Linked DNA regions of Homo sapiens: all the other regions are linked to region 1. The links are contacts of gene promoters, found by promoter capture Hi-C in human tissues and cell types (Jung and others, 2019). All regions are on one chromosome and are shown on one strand. Each heading gives the region's core, a stretch centred on a gene start or on the middle of the fragment in contact. The rest is flanking DNA. Distances are from core to core; before and after follow the strand shown. Region 1 holds the start of SHROOM3 (shroom family member 3). Region 2 overlaps LOC107986292 (a long non-coding RNA gene). Region 3 holds the start of CCNI (cyclin I). Region 4 overlaps SEPTIN11 (septin 11).

Region 1 (3,585 bases), core at 467-2,966:
AAATACTCTAAAAATTTAAAAGCAATATTATAACAAGTAATGTTAATCTGTAGTTTAAGAGAAAAATAGAAATATTAACCCCAGTACATAAATATTTCATTGGTATGACTACCCACACCAAAAGATAAATGAAGAATTGAGGTATGCTGCAGGATGACTAAGGTTTAAAAAGGGATTCAAATATACAGATAAATAGGAGAGGCAGAAATGTTTTGATCTTGAGTTATGCTGAAAGCTGATTTAATTCTCCTTTCTGAGTGTGGGGAAAAAAAGCAACACATGGTATTTATGCAATCTATTATCCAGAATTATAAGCAAACTTAAAATATTTTTAGATGCTATTTTCAGTTGAAGAGAGAAAAAGCAGATATTTTTGAATGCACAAATATATACCATGCCACCATCTTAACCATGTTATTAATCTTTAATCTGATTTATAACTGAAAAGCTCATGTGGTAACTGATTGTATGCGATTTCATTCACAAAAAGAGAAGATTATCCATCAAACAGGCATATTTTTCTTCGGATTTCATAGAATAAATGAGCTAGACACATTTTTCTTTCAAATCCCAGGCTATCCAAAATATTTCTAGATAATCAGAAAGGCATGAAACAGCAAATTAAGTTATATTAAGGCAGTTCTCATTATTTTGCATTTTTGACAAATCTGACAAGTTGAAAAAAACAATTTGAATAAAGGCAATATTGGAAAAAGAAACATACCTTAGAGATGATTAATGGTTCTCCGTGCTCCAGGCCACCCTTTAGAGTAAAACCCCAGGGAGCTCCTCCCTCCAGGAATGCCTCCAGATAAATGTACCTTCCCTTGGTGGCCGTGTTAGAGTTTAATGTGGCACTAGGCTTGTGGAAGTCTTCAGTGGTCCTCATCATGCCAAACACATGATCCCTCAAGTTAAATTTAAAATGCCTGAAGCAAACTCAGGCAAGCAGTGCTTCTACAGCACAAGTTGTCCCATCCTTCAGGACACACAATGGCCAAAAGAGAGGTTTGGAGAAGCAAATTCTTCCATACGTAAAATGTTCTTCCAAGCTGAACTCCAAGATGCTGAACCAGAAGGAATTTTCACTTCAACATTTCTGAATGTAAATCCTCCTCCAGGAATTCTGGGTTCTCACTGAAGCCCCCAAGTGGTATACATCTCTACTCCGTTCGTCAAAACTTCCTTCAGTGGCGCTCTGAAGATTGCTTTTCTGAGCTTTTATTTCACACATACACACACTAAAACCATTTCTGCCTATTTTACAGAGAAAATTAAAAGCATCTTACAATATAGTAAGAAAATCACAAATACTCAAAGGAATACCTCATTTTTGATTGATTATCAACCCTTTCTTCCTCTCGGAGTGAAATTTACCATTACAATAGCCTCCTCCCTCCCCAGAAGTAGCTTAAAAAGAAAGAAAGCACTTACTATGCTTCGGCTCACTTCAGAATTTTCTAACTTGTCCCGAAGAGACAGAGAAGCTGTGCTAAAACTTTTTACTTCTTTTTTTCAACAATCAGTTCATAGTTTGTTTCTTAGGAGAGAAAAAAACTTTTGCAGGATGTAGAGAAAATGAAAAAGCACGGTAAATTAATCCTCAATGGAAAAAATATGAAGGAGGCAGCTCAGTTCTTTTCTTTGGTATTTTCAGTGATGATCAGCCACTGCTGCGGCCGCCACAGCCACTTGCCTCCTCTTGAGAGAAAGAGTAAGGAAGTTAGAGGAACATGGATTAAGGCAAAGTGAGGCATTGCAACCTTTCTGCACAGTAAGCACTGCCATGCAGAATTCAGCTCACCACAAAGACCTGACAATTCAAACAGTCTTACAGTTAATAACACGTAGGAAGTTAAAAATACTATACAGATGGCTAATTGCCAAGGGATAGAAAATAGTTCCTAGAATAGCCCCGCCTCGTACCAATTAAAGGAGAATTTCAGGGAGTGAGACATAGGCATTTGTGTTTTTAAAAACCCTCCAGGCAATTCTGCTATGCAGCCAAGTTTGAGAAGCAATGCCTAAGTGATTTGGGTAAACGTTTAAGTACATGTCAAGGTGGTGGCACAAGGGCTTTTTTTTTTTCGTTAGAAGAAAATACTACCAGTGTAATATATGAAATGGGACTTTCCAATCAAAGTTCTGCTTGTTTGACTCAATAAAAACAGGAGGTGGGTTTTTTTTTCTAGGTTTTCATTGTTATCTACTCCAAGATTGTTATCCACTCTTTAAATGAAAAGAAATCTACAATGCCTTGTGGGTAAGTACTAGGTACTCGGGAAAGAATGTTGTTCTGATTTCATGTTACCAGTGTCATTTTGTAATAATGTTATATACAAATTTAACATTCATGCTTTGTATTAAAAATTTGAACAGTAGAAGATAACCATATCTAACCCAGAAGCCTCAGCTATTTAGTTATTGGAACAGATTAGAATTACTTCCAGGTAATATATGTACTAAAACTTTTTTCTGTTTAAAAGTATGGGATAATGAGAATTAAGTTGAAAACTGAAGTTAAAAACTACTGTGGGGCTTGATAACAATTATTTTGGTGTTTGTACTTATAATTAATGAAAGGCTGATATGGAAAGGCAGGTATATGATATCAAACTACACGATATTTAATTTACAACACTGGACAGGTATTGTTTGATTTTCAATGGTAACTTCACTTGAAGGGCTCAAAGACAAAAAAAAAAAAAAAAAAGTAAAACCTTATGTAATGGTAGTATGTGAATGGAAACATAAGGAAACCTAAGGTGTACCAAATGAAAGTATGTGGTAAAAATTGGCTGATTCTTAAGGGTAATTTACGCAATTTCTATTGTGGTTTTCTTTTACAGCTTAATTTGTAAGTTAGAATAAATGGAGAAACATTAGCTTTTCTTTCATTTCAAAGAACATATGTATTTTAAATAAAAGTCCTAGGTAAATGAACAGCTTTCTTTCTGAAAAAATTAATTTATGAGGCTCTTATTATGTTACTCCTAATACATTTTGTAAAAACTGGGATTTTACAGAATCCACATTTAATATTAAAAGTAACATAGCTATACAAAATTTCAGTTAGGAGGCATAAGCTCAAGAGATCTATTGTACAGCATGATGACCATAGTTATAACAATGTATTGTATATTTGGAAATTGCTAAGATTAGATTTTAAGTGCTCTCACCACAAAAAAAATTAGTATGTGAGGTAATAGGTTAATTCCTTGATTTAGCCATTTTACAATGCATACTTATATCAAAACATCATGTGGTACACCATAAGTATATATAATTTTTAGTTGTCAATTTAAAAAATAATAAACAAAAAAAGTAATGAAGCTAAAGGCAAAGGAAATAAGGAAAAGATAATATGAACCCAGTGCTTGCAGACTGATGAAATCTCCATTTTAGATTATCACCAAAAATATTGAAGAAACAAACATAGAACCAAAATTGATATGTAATCTGAAAAAAAAATGTAAAACTTCATTTTGTGGACCTTCACTATAGCAGTTGATAGACCAGGTTTGGAAGAACTTTTTTCCTCCATCTTCTGTTGATCAGATTCAAAGAATGTTAAAGCTGCAAGAG
Region 2 (3,585 bases), core at 687-3,186, 750 kb before region 1:
GTTGTGAGAGTTGGTTGATATTATGTTTGTAAAGCATCTAGAACTAGTTCATGGCACAAGCACATATAGCACTATTAACCAGATCTGTTCCACGTGCAATACATATTGACTCATTTAACTCTCACAACAATTCTATTATTGGTCTTCATGTCCCACATGAGGAATCTGAACCACACAAGGATGAAAAATTGGCCTAAGGTAGCACAGCCACAGTAGTGGACGTGGATTCAAACCCAAGCAGTCTGGCTCCAGAATCCTTACCTGTAGTCAGCACACTACACAGCACTGCCTGTAAAGGAAGGAAGAAGAAAGGAGACATGGCATCCTGGAAAGCCCAAGAAAAGAGGCACCCTTATAAAAGGGAAATGGTCAGCCCCACTTTGAAGTTGCAAATGTATAAATAATGCAGAAATGAATTTGGAACAATACCATGTTCATGTCCAAGGCCTGCAATGGTAGCACCTGCTTCTGCAGGCCCAAAAGTCAGTGAGAATCTTCATCTACAAGTCATACAATAACACTAAAAATAAAGCTTAACAAATAAGAGAAACCCACTCCCCGCATGTTTATGCCAGTGTTTTCTCAGTTGACTTCCTGGATAGAAAGCTCAACTACCTGATAGTCCAGTTCAAAATTAGACACATAACAATCCTCACTGTAGAGAAGCCAGGCAACATTCCACAGTTAGTCATCACTCTTCAAGGCCAGAGGATGGGGCCCTGGACCATGCCTGAGGATGTGATCTTGAGGCTCCCACTGCCCCCTAGCCTATGTAGCTGACAAGCACAAAAGTGGAGGCCCAGCTTGGACTCCTAATTTGGCCATTCCATCTCTAATTTACAGCCCAAAAATTAAAAGTTACCACCCTTTGGCTGGGCACAGTGGCTCATGCCTGTAATCCCAGCACTTTGGGAGGCCCAGGTGGGCAGATCACTTGAGGTAAGGGGTTGGAGATCAGCCTGGCCAACGTGGTGAAACCCCATCTCTACTAAAAATACAAAAATTAGCCAGGCACGATAGCACGTGCCTGTAATCCCAGCTACTCAGGAGGCTGAGGCACGAGAATCACTTGAACCTGGGAGGCGGAGGTTACAGTGAGCTGAGACTGTGCCACTACACTCCAGCCTGGGCGATGCAGTGACACTCTGTCTCAAAAAAAAAGAAGAAAAAAAAAGCTACCACCCTCTGCTTACTCTGAGCCAGGTACTCTACATACTTTGGCTTATTTAATCCCCCATTTGCCTCTATGAGATAGCTATTAATATTCCTATGTTATGAATGAGAAAAGTCAGGTTTGAAGGGATGAAGCAACTTTCCCCAAGTTACACAGCTGCCAAGAGGAATAGTCAGAGTGAGGATTTAAACCCAGGTTGTTTGGATTCCAAGGCCCTGCTCTTGAGCACTAAGTACTACAGCTAGGATTGTCTGAAAGTGAGTTTAGAGGGATGTATTGAGATGGTAGAGCCAGTAACCACTCCCTGTGGCCCTATTATCCCTTTTTTCCCGTGAAAGACCCCTGAAACCCACAAGAGAAGAAAGATAAAATGCTCTTCCTGCCACACGAGCTATCCTTAGGGATGGCGGCACAGAGAGAAGAGGTGTGGTGAAAGCACCCCAATTTTCTTTTCAATAGCTTTATTTCAATTCTATTACTTCCAAGCCAAGACAAACTGCTTCCGAATCCTAATCCACCCATCCCTTTTCTTTTCTGTCTCTTGATTCCCCCCAACCACAACCTGAGTCTGTGGAGGAGGAAACAGGGAGGGGAAATGAGGTTTGTGTAAAGAACAATTCTACTTCCAGTTTCCTGAACTCATATTCTGAGCTGGATTAATTTCAGTAGGTTATTCGCCAAAACTATCAGCAACTCTGGCTGCATTGTGAAGCCTGCCTGGATCCTAGTTCTGCCAGCATAGAAGAACAAAAGCATCCAGGGGAACAGGTGGTGAAAGGTGGCCACTGTCCACGCCAGCACAGCAGGAAGAACCCTCTGTGTTGGTGCTCTGCCCTTTGGAATCTGAGATTTGTTACTGTCTAACTCATTATTTGGATGGAGCTGGTGCTACTGCGTAGACAGATATATAATAGTATTTATTCTATCTTTTACAACATTAATAAGATATTGAACTCCAAAATGTACAAGCCTAATTTAGAATGTATACAGAGCTAAAACTTTCCAATTCCCTGCCACGGCTATATTTATACATCCCCAGTTTAAAATGAGAGAGCAGCTGCAAGTACTGTGGTAAAAAGGCTACCCACGTAGACCTTCTCCTGAGTTCTCCCTCGTCAGCATCCACTCTGCAACAACCCTAGTTTCAGCCCTCATTTCTCGCCTACCGCCTTGCTCTGCCCTCCCAACTGTTTTCACTACCTTCAGGGCCCACTCTCTAGGTCCTTCTATACACTGCATCCAGAGAGACGTTTCTAAAACACAAAAGCCTTCCCTGGCTTCCCATCACGTTCAGGATAAAGACAAAATTCCTGCAAAAAGAGTAGAGAAAAAAAGCCGTTTACTGCCTGAGCCAGTCTTCTACCAGTCTTCAAATTCCATCTCTGCTCTGACCCCCTTAGTTGATCCTCCTCCTAGCATTTTTCCAAAACTATTCCCACTTCTAGTACACTCTCATCTCTCTTTCATCTTCCCCATCCTGGCTAATTCCCACTTATCTTATTCCACTTTGACTTCCAACAGTGAAAGCAAAAGCAAGGTTTTCTTTTTTTTTTTTTTTTTCTGACACAGGGTCTTACTCCACAGGCCAGATGGGAGTGCAGTGGCACAATCACAGCTCACTGCAGTCTTCACCTCCTGGGCTCAAGTGATCCTTCTGACTTAGCCTCTAGAGTAGCTAGGACCACAGGCATGCACCACCACACCTGGCTAATTTTAAAAAAAAAATTTTTTTTGTACAGATGGGGTCTCTCCATGTTGCCCAGGGTGGTTTGAAACTCCTGGCCACAAGCGATCTTCCCACCTCAGCCTCCCAAAATGCTGAAATTACAGGTGTGAACCACTGCACCCAGCCAATTTTTTCTTCTTCAGAAAGCATTTCTCTGCTAGATCCCTGTCTTAGTCCATTCTGGCTGGTATAACAAAATAACATAGATAGGATAGCTTATAAACAATAAATTTCTTTCTCACAGTTCTGGAAGCTGAGAAGTCCAAGATCAATGTGACAATTCAGTATCTGGTGAGGGCCCACTTCCTGGTTCATAGATGGCACCTTCCTGCTGTGTACTCACATGGTAAAAGGAGCAGGGGAGGTCTCTGGGTTCTTTTTTACAAGGCTATTAATCCCATTCATGAGGGCTTCCCCCAGTAACCTCATCACCCCCCAAAGACACACCTCCTAATAACATCATCTTGGGGGTGACGATTTCAACATGTGAATTTGGGAAGTGGGTCGGGGCACAAACATTCAGACCACAGCTAGTCCTTAAAGAGAACTAAGGACCTCCCTCATGTCCTTTCAAAGCAAAAATGCTAACACTGCTCTTATTACAGCTCCATTGTCACCATCTGTTCATTTGTCTGTGTCCTTTGCCAGCAGTGAGCTCATGGAAAACAGAATGTATTATTTGCCT
Region 3 (3,585 bases), core at 1,086-3,585, 640 kb before region 1:
CCCCTAGCCCTAAGCAACCACTTCCTTACTTTCTGTCTCTATATATTTGCCTATTCTGGACATTCACGTAAGTGGAATCATATAATATGTGGTCTTTTGTGACTGGCTTCTTTCATTTAGCATACTGCTTTCAAAGGTTATGCATGTTATAGCATGTATTAGTATTTTCTTTTTATGGCCCAATAAGATTCCATTGTATAGGTCGGTGTGACGGCTCATGCCTGTAATCCCATCACTTTCAGGCTAAGGAGGGAGAATTGCTAGAGGCCAGGAGTTTGAGACCAGCCTGGACAACATAGGAAGTCTCATGGCACCCCCATCTGCGCCACGGAGCCAGACCCCATCTCTTAAAAATAAAAATTTGATTGTACATAGATGTATCACATTTGATTTATACAGGCGCCAGCTGATGAACATTTAGGTTGTTTCATCTTTGGCTATTATGAATAATGCTAACGTTTGTAAAAAAGTTTTTGCATGGACAAATATTTTCCTTTCTCTTGGGTATATATTTAGGAGTGGAATTTGCATTATTCTTATTGGAGTGAAAATCAGAAGCAATTTCATGGTCTAACAATGGAATTATGTTACACTCTCAATAGTATTATGCAGAAATGCTACAGTCTCAAGAGTAACATGCAGAAAAATGGTGGCTTTTTTGAATGAAGACCATATAATAATAGGCTACATGAAGTGAAAAAAAGAAAAAAAAAGGATACAACCCACTTGAAATCCTCCTAGGGCTTCCCATTCCTTCTTCTGTTCTATGGCATCTGTCCTCTGCTTCCACATCCTGCCTCAGTTGTCTGAGGGCCAGCCACACTAGCTTTCAGAGATTTTTAGAACGTCTCAGCTTCGGAGCCTTTTCACATAACTTCCTCTGCTTGTATCATTCTTTGCCCAGTGGTTTCAAGTCTCATCTTAAATGTCACTTCTTCAGAAAAACCTTCTCTGATATCCCAAACCAGGCGGAAAGGCAAGCGTTTCCACAGCAGCCGGCGATTTTCCATCTTAACGGTTTTAATACCAGAATTGTTTACTTGGTCAAATATTGAGAGCCTTTTATACACAGGGATAGAGGGTGAAACATGCAAGATCCCTGCCGCCTGCGACCTTATATTCTAGGGAGGGGATACATGCACAAGTAAACAAGTAAATGTACTTGGTAATTTTACATAGTGATAATTAGCTCAATGGTTATCCTCTGTTTGGACTGTAAACTCCATGAAGGCAGGAGCTATGTCTGTCTTGGCTACTTCCAGTTTGCTGAGTCTGGCCACTAAATAAACTCAACACATATTTTTTCACTGACAGTTAAAATAACTATATAAAAAACAAATGGAAAAAACAAACGAGACTTCTATAAATGGTTGAGATCTAGCTCTTCCTCTTTCAAAACTCTGTAATACTACATATTTTTAAATAATTAAAACAATCAAAATAGCAAAAAGTTACCGTTTGTACTAACAGAACCCCAAATAAAACCCATTTATGTCACCACACATTCTTTAAGCACCTGGTAATAAAACCTATTCGGAAATACTCAGACGTGTTGGTTGAGTGGATAAAATCCCCTTGCCACATTGCCAAGCAGGTTCCTCGCCGTCAGCAGTATAATTTACAGTGTTTCACTGAGGCCTTAAGCACCCATGATTTGATTCTCCCTAATTTTCCGATTCCTAAAACCCTTTAGAATCTCCCTCCACCCACACAATGTGGCAGTGAGAAAAACCGCAATTCTATTTACATGTCAACGGTAAGAACACGTAATACTTTGCTAGGTCAACAAATCTGCAAGATCTCCACCCAAGAGATCAGTAGCCCCTTCCCAGTGAATCCTTCTAAGAGCCTGGGGACGAGTAGGGCTAGATAAAACCAAGCTGCTGTAAAGCTGGACCACAGGAGCGGATCGTGAAATCCCCTCCCCCAAGCGCAGCGCTCGGCCGCTTCTTTCTTCCCCAGGCGCATGCGCAGCGCACTCTCCGGCCACCGCACGCCCCCTCAGTGGGGGCCCAGAGACGCTGACGTCACCGTGCGGTCTGCAAGCAACCCTTCCGCTCCTTCAAGGAAAATGAGTCCACGGACCTTCGGCTTTTCTTAGCCACGAGAAAACGTCCTCCCTCCTTCCATCCTAGTGCCAACGACTTCCCCAGCCCGTCTCCTTTCGGCCGCACTTCTCTGTACTTTCGTTGGACCGGGAAGGCGGCGGGGAGGAACAGGAAGGGTGAAAGACCAAGTCCGCGTAGTTTACAAGGAGTGGGCGAGTCTAGGAATCGGTCCGCGAGGGCGGAGCCGAGGAAGCCGGCACTTCTTCCTCCCTTCCCCTCTCTTCCCCTCCCTCCCCAGCCTTCCCCGCGAGCGGACGCGGCAGCGCCTCTGTCTCGCTTTTTCTTATTTTTCCCCCCTTTCCCCTTTCTTTTTTTTTTTTTCTTTTCTTTTCTCCCCTCCCCCCCTTTCACCATTTCCCCTCGGAGGCGCTTTCCCCGGGCAGGGGCAGAGCCGGTCTCACCCCCCGCCTCTCCCCGGCCCCCGCCGCCCTATGGCGAGAGGGAGCCCCCTCCCAACCCGGGCTCGAGCGGCGGCGGCCTCAGGCCGGGGGTCATCATGGAACTAATTCGCTGACCGACCCAGCGGCCGCAGCCGTGCGTCCCGCTCGAGCGCCAGCGCCCGCGCCCGCGCCCCCCGATCCGCTTCCCCTTTCTCCCTCCTCAGTTGGCCGAGTCGTCCCGCGCGCACCGCCTCCGCGCGCCTATGAGAATGAGGTGGTAACGGGCCCCCGGATGACCCCGCGTCACCACTGTGAGGCCTACAGCTCTGCCGGGGAGGAGGAGGAGGAGGAAGAGGAGGAGAAGGTGAGGGGCGGGGGCGGGGGCGGGGGCTCGACGCGTCTCCGCGGCCGGCGTCGACGCGCTGGGGCCCCGCTGCTCCCCCCGCGCCGCCCCCGTGGCAGCGCCCTTGGCCGCGCGCTGCTCGCCGGAGACCCACCCTCCCGCATCCCCCAGCCCGGGGAACCTCGGGGCCGCCCTCTTCGTCCTCTCCGGCCCAGACAGACCCGTCACCTGCCCACTTGAAAACGGCACTACTGTGTTCCTTTTCGGGCCAGTTTTTCTGTCAGCGAGTAACTTTTTTTTGTGGCAGCGGCAAATTAGCTACTCTATAGTGCGTGTTGGAGGCTCTACGAGCCCGTGTTAATACACAAAGAAGGGGACACACCCCCACCCTCAGGTTGAACGATTCTCCGGGGACACCAGGAGGATTACTAACTTTGCACGGCAGACTGAATGCCAAATGAATGGGGTGAACCTCCGGTGCTGTGAAATTCGGGGGAGGGCAACGTTACCCAGGGCTTGGGGCGGGTGGGTGGGGGGAATCCGGGGGAGGTGAGATTTGAGTTGTGCTCTAAAGGCTAGATTAAATAACTGGAATTTGAAAGGAGGACAGAGGAGCCTCCGCTGGAGCTAGGGGGCTCCGTTACAGATCCTTTTGGCAGAAGTTGACAATTGGGTATCAAAACAGTGGAAGGTGTTTCGGGAGGTAGGATGGATTCAGACTCTGAAGGGGTTTGAACTAAAATGTTTATGTTTT
Region 4 (3,585 bases), core at 289-2,788, 530 kb before region 1:
CATTTTGCTCAAGCTACCATCTTGAATCACATGAAGCTACTATTTTTGTAGTTGAGAAATGGCTGGATATCAACTTTCATGTGGTTCAACCCACTACTAGGACATTCTGTAAAATCAAGAGCAATTTTGCCACATCTTTTTCTTTTACTGTTAATGATCTCACTGGCTTTTTGCTTCTTAAAAAGGTTATGAAAGAGTAGGCTTCGGAAAAGAAGAGTCTCAAAACTCATAACAAAAACAACAGAAATTTTATCAATAAAAATGTTCCAATAATTAGAAAGACAGCCTAAATCAACCTTTTAGAAAGATGTTTTCTAAATAGTCTGCTTACAAAACATCTGCCTTTTTTGTTTTTCTGAGACTCTAATTGTCACTAATAGTTCGTAGAAGATGCATTTTTGTATAGGCAGGAAGACCGAAAAGAAGGGAGGATGCTGGGTTTCAGCTGTAGAGGGAAGGATTAACAGGAAATTTAAGCCTCAACTTAAGTCCTTAGGCCTCAATAAGGATTAATGGGAAATTTAAGCCTCAATTCCCCAGGCCTCAGTTTCCTCATCTTAAAGGAAGGTCCTTTATAAGGTGACCTTTGAAGGCCCTTCTGGCTCTAGCACTAATAATTTGTTGAAATTTGGTAACAAATTTTATTCTACCTATATCAACTTGCATTTTATATCGTCCCACTGCCGAATTCATAAATAATTTCATGGCCTATAGGAACAGCCATTAACTGTCATTGGAACTCAACCAAAAATAGAAAATCCAACCCCATTCACTATATATAGCATATGTTTTTGCGGAGCCACATTTGCTTGGCTACCACACACTCTAGAATTCCTCCCACTCCCTCAGCTGTGGGCCTGCTCACACCATACATCAACTTTTGGTTCTCCAAATTTGCTCTCTTATGGCCGGGCCTGTATTGGAGAAATCCTGTTACAGAAACAATTCAAAAATGTTGATGTTGTCCTCAACCAATCTATATGTTTTAATATCAGAGTTCAAGCACTTGCTTCACTTGTATTTTAAAAGCAGCCACATTTTCTGCACACACAAAAAGCTTAAATTGTTCAAATGTTAAATCATTCTAAAAGGCATACCAAAAAAAAAAAAACTATTAATGGTTCCTTTATTCAAATACAAGAAAAACAAATAAATTTATTTCCAATGGAAATCAGATTGCAAATTGGCAGACTCAACCAGCAAATGTGTTTATGTGACCCACACAGTATTTTTAAAACATTTAGTTGCCAACATTGTCAGATGTGGAAATTTCACATCAAATTCCAAATGTCCATCTCTTCTTTTGAAAAACTGAAGACTATGGCACCATCAGGCCCCCATTTCCTAGTCAGAGCCAAGAGGTGGCATGTGTTTTTCCAGCAGTTTAACTGAAGAATGTGGGTTGCCTTTTTGGTACTTTTTCTCCCTCAAATAAATAAGCTAAATAATGAAGCTCATTCATAGATGGCTTACACATTTGCCTCCCTTACTATCATCTTACCATGCCATCAATAATTCAACACGGAACCTAATTGAAGCTTAACCAAAACTGTGTATAAACCATTGGCCATTAACTAAAGAGAAAGTTAGATAAATTTCTATTTCTTATTAATGTTATAGCTACATCAGGTTAAGCACTTTTTCTTTTCTTTTTTGTGATGGAGTCTCACTCTGTCACCCAGGCTGCAGTAAAGGGGCATGATCTTGGCTCACTGAAACCTCTGCCTCCTGGACTCAAGCAATTCTCGTGCCTCAGCCTCCCAAGTAGCTGGGATTACAGGTGTGAGCCACCACACCTGGCTAATTTTTGTATTTTTAGTAGAGACACGGTTTTGCCATGTTGGCCAGGCTGGTCTCAAAATCCCGACCTCAAGTGATCTGCCCACCTCGGCCTCCCAAAGTGCTGGGATTACAGGCCAGGTTAAGCACTTTTCTAACTACAATAAAGCATAAGCATTAACTGAGATCTAGACTACTTAATATTTTTTGAGACAGGGGCTCCCTCTGTCTCCCAGGCTGGAGTACAGTGGCACAATCTCGGCTCACTGCAGCCTGAAACTCCCAGACTCAAGCGATCCTCCCACCTCAGCCACCGGAGTAGCTGGGACAACAGGTGAGCGCCACCACCTCCCAGCTAATTCTTGTATTTTTTCTGAGAAATGGGGTTTCACCATGTTGCCGGGGCTGGTCTCAACCTCCTGGGCTCAAGTGATCTATCTTCCTCGGCCTCCCAAAGTGCTGGGAATTACAGGTGTGAGCCACCATGCCTGGCTGATTACATAAATTTTTAATTTTTTTCAAGATGTATTATTGTTAGATTTAAATTTGGTCTATTAGAAAATCACTGGAAAATCTCCAAACTTTATACATTAAAAAAAAAAAAAGTCAGCTATACTCATCTTGTGGCTTCTTTGCTGAAAATAGTTGCTATATTTGCCTAATCAGGTCATAGTCATTTTACAAGCCTTAACAGTTTCCTGTCTCTATCCTGCATAAAAAGCACAGGATAACTAATTTGACCAAATATCTTCCTAAATCTTCTTCTTAGCCCTACTGTGGATTCAACTGTCTCTTGTCAAGTGGAGATAAAACTCATTTCATGAGAGAATTCTTTGCAAAACTAGCATAAATCTTGAGTTGTGGTAACATTAAAATGTAGGGCGCCATCCAACTACTTACTCTCTCCACTCACCATGGAATAAAGCAAACTGGACTAAACTGCAACACAGATGATGAGATGAAACACAGACTTTCCTTCTCTCCCAGGAACATAGTTAACAAAGCCTAAGGGAACACAAAGGGCAGACTCTGCTGGAGACAAAACCATGTAAAAGAAATGGCAGCCTCTTATAGCTGAAAGCTTGCAGTTGTCCATCAGAAAGTTGGTGAAAATTTCAATATAGCTCTTTTTCTAAAGCACATTATCTTTTTACATCAATAGACAGCTGAGCCAAGCCCTGAGAGCATTTCCGATGATACAAGATCCTTTTACCATCACAAAACCATTCCCTTTAAATCCTAAGATACCGTGTATAGGGTTCCAAATTTAGAATATACATATTCTGCACTCTGTCATGAGAGAAAATCACTATTGGCTCCTAAATTAAACTATAAAAGCATAGCAACAATTCTTGCTTTATGTTGTGAGGAAAACTGCACTTTTAAATATCATTGGTGCAAGCATTATTTCCTTCAATGTGTCTGTTCATATGACTAAAATGTACTTGATACACAAGTTTCTTTTAGAAATAGAAATATTAAAATAAGTATTTCCTATAATAAATTATATATAATATGTATTATATAGGCAATAATACATAATATTATACCACCAGTAATAGGCATAAATTCTAAGCCCAAAAGACAAAATTTGATAAATGACTCCTTTTTTTTTTTTTTTTGAAATGGAGTCTGGCTCTGTTGCCCAGGCTGGAGTGCAGTGGCACAATCTCAGCTCACTGCAGCCTCTGCCTCCGAGGTTCAAGTGATTCTCCATCCTCAGCCTCCCAAGTAGCCTGGACTACAGGTGCACGCCACCACGCCTGGCTAATTTTTGTATTTTTAGTAGAGATGGGGTTTCACCAT

What was found. The method cuts DNA at HindIII sites, captures the fragments that hold promoters and counts their contacts. A contact is called where the count stands out against the background at its distance.
Region 2: a fragment that was not itself captured here is called in contact with the fragment with the promoter of SHROOM3 in region 1 in 1 of the 25 tissues and cell types used here (lymphoblastoid cells).
Region 3: the fragment with the promoter of CCNI here is called in contact with the fragment with the promoter of SHROOM3 in region 1 in 1 of the 25 tissues and cell types used here (heart left ventricle).
Region 4: a contact is called between a fragment that was not itself captured here and the fragment with the promoter of SHROOM3 in region 1, in 2 of the 25 tissues and cell types used here (neural progenitor cells and spleen).

Annotation. Positions count from the first base shown.
Region 1 is chr4:76,433,360-76,436,944 of GRCh38, reverse strand. SHROOM3 (shroom family member 3) reads right to left here and starts at 1,716. Exons shown (of 11, transcript NM_020859.4): 1 at 725-1,716. The coding sequence starts at 892. The HindIII fragment of the contact is 12,167 bases long and covers 1-3,585 here.
Region 2 is chr4:77,187,365-77,190,949 of GRCh38, reverse strand. All of the region lies in intron 3 of LOC107986292 (a long non-coding RNA gene), which reads right to left. Among named protein-coding and RNA genes, the nearest start is that of CCNG2, 32 kb to the right of the region's middle. The HindIII fragment of the contact is 3,395 bases long and covers 239-3,585 here.
Region 3 is chr4:77,074,739-77,078,323 of GRCh38, reverse strand. CCNI (cyclin I) reads left to right here and starts at 2,335. Exons shown (of 7, transcript NM_006835.3): 1 at 2,335-2,852. RefSeq lists enhancers at 1,169-2,139, 2,038-2,267 and silencers at 2,448-2,797, 2,858-3,007. The HindIII fragment of the contact is 11,169 bases long and covers 1-3,585 here.
Region 4 is chr4:76,965,267-76,968,851 of GRCh38, reverse strand. All of the region lies in intron 1 of SEPTIN11 (septin 11), which reads right to left. Among named protein-coding and RNA genes, the nearest start is that of SEPTIN11, 17 kb to the right of the region's middle. The HindIII fragment of the contact is 3,733 bases long and covers 1-3,404 here.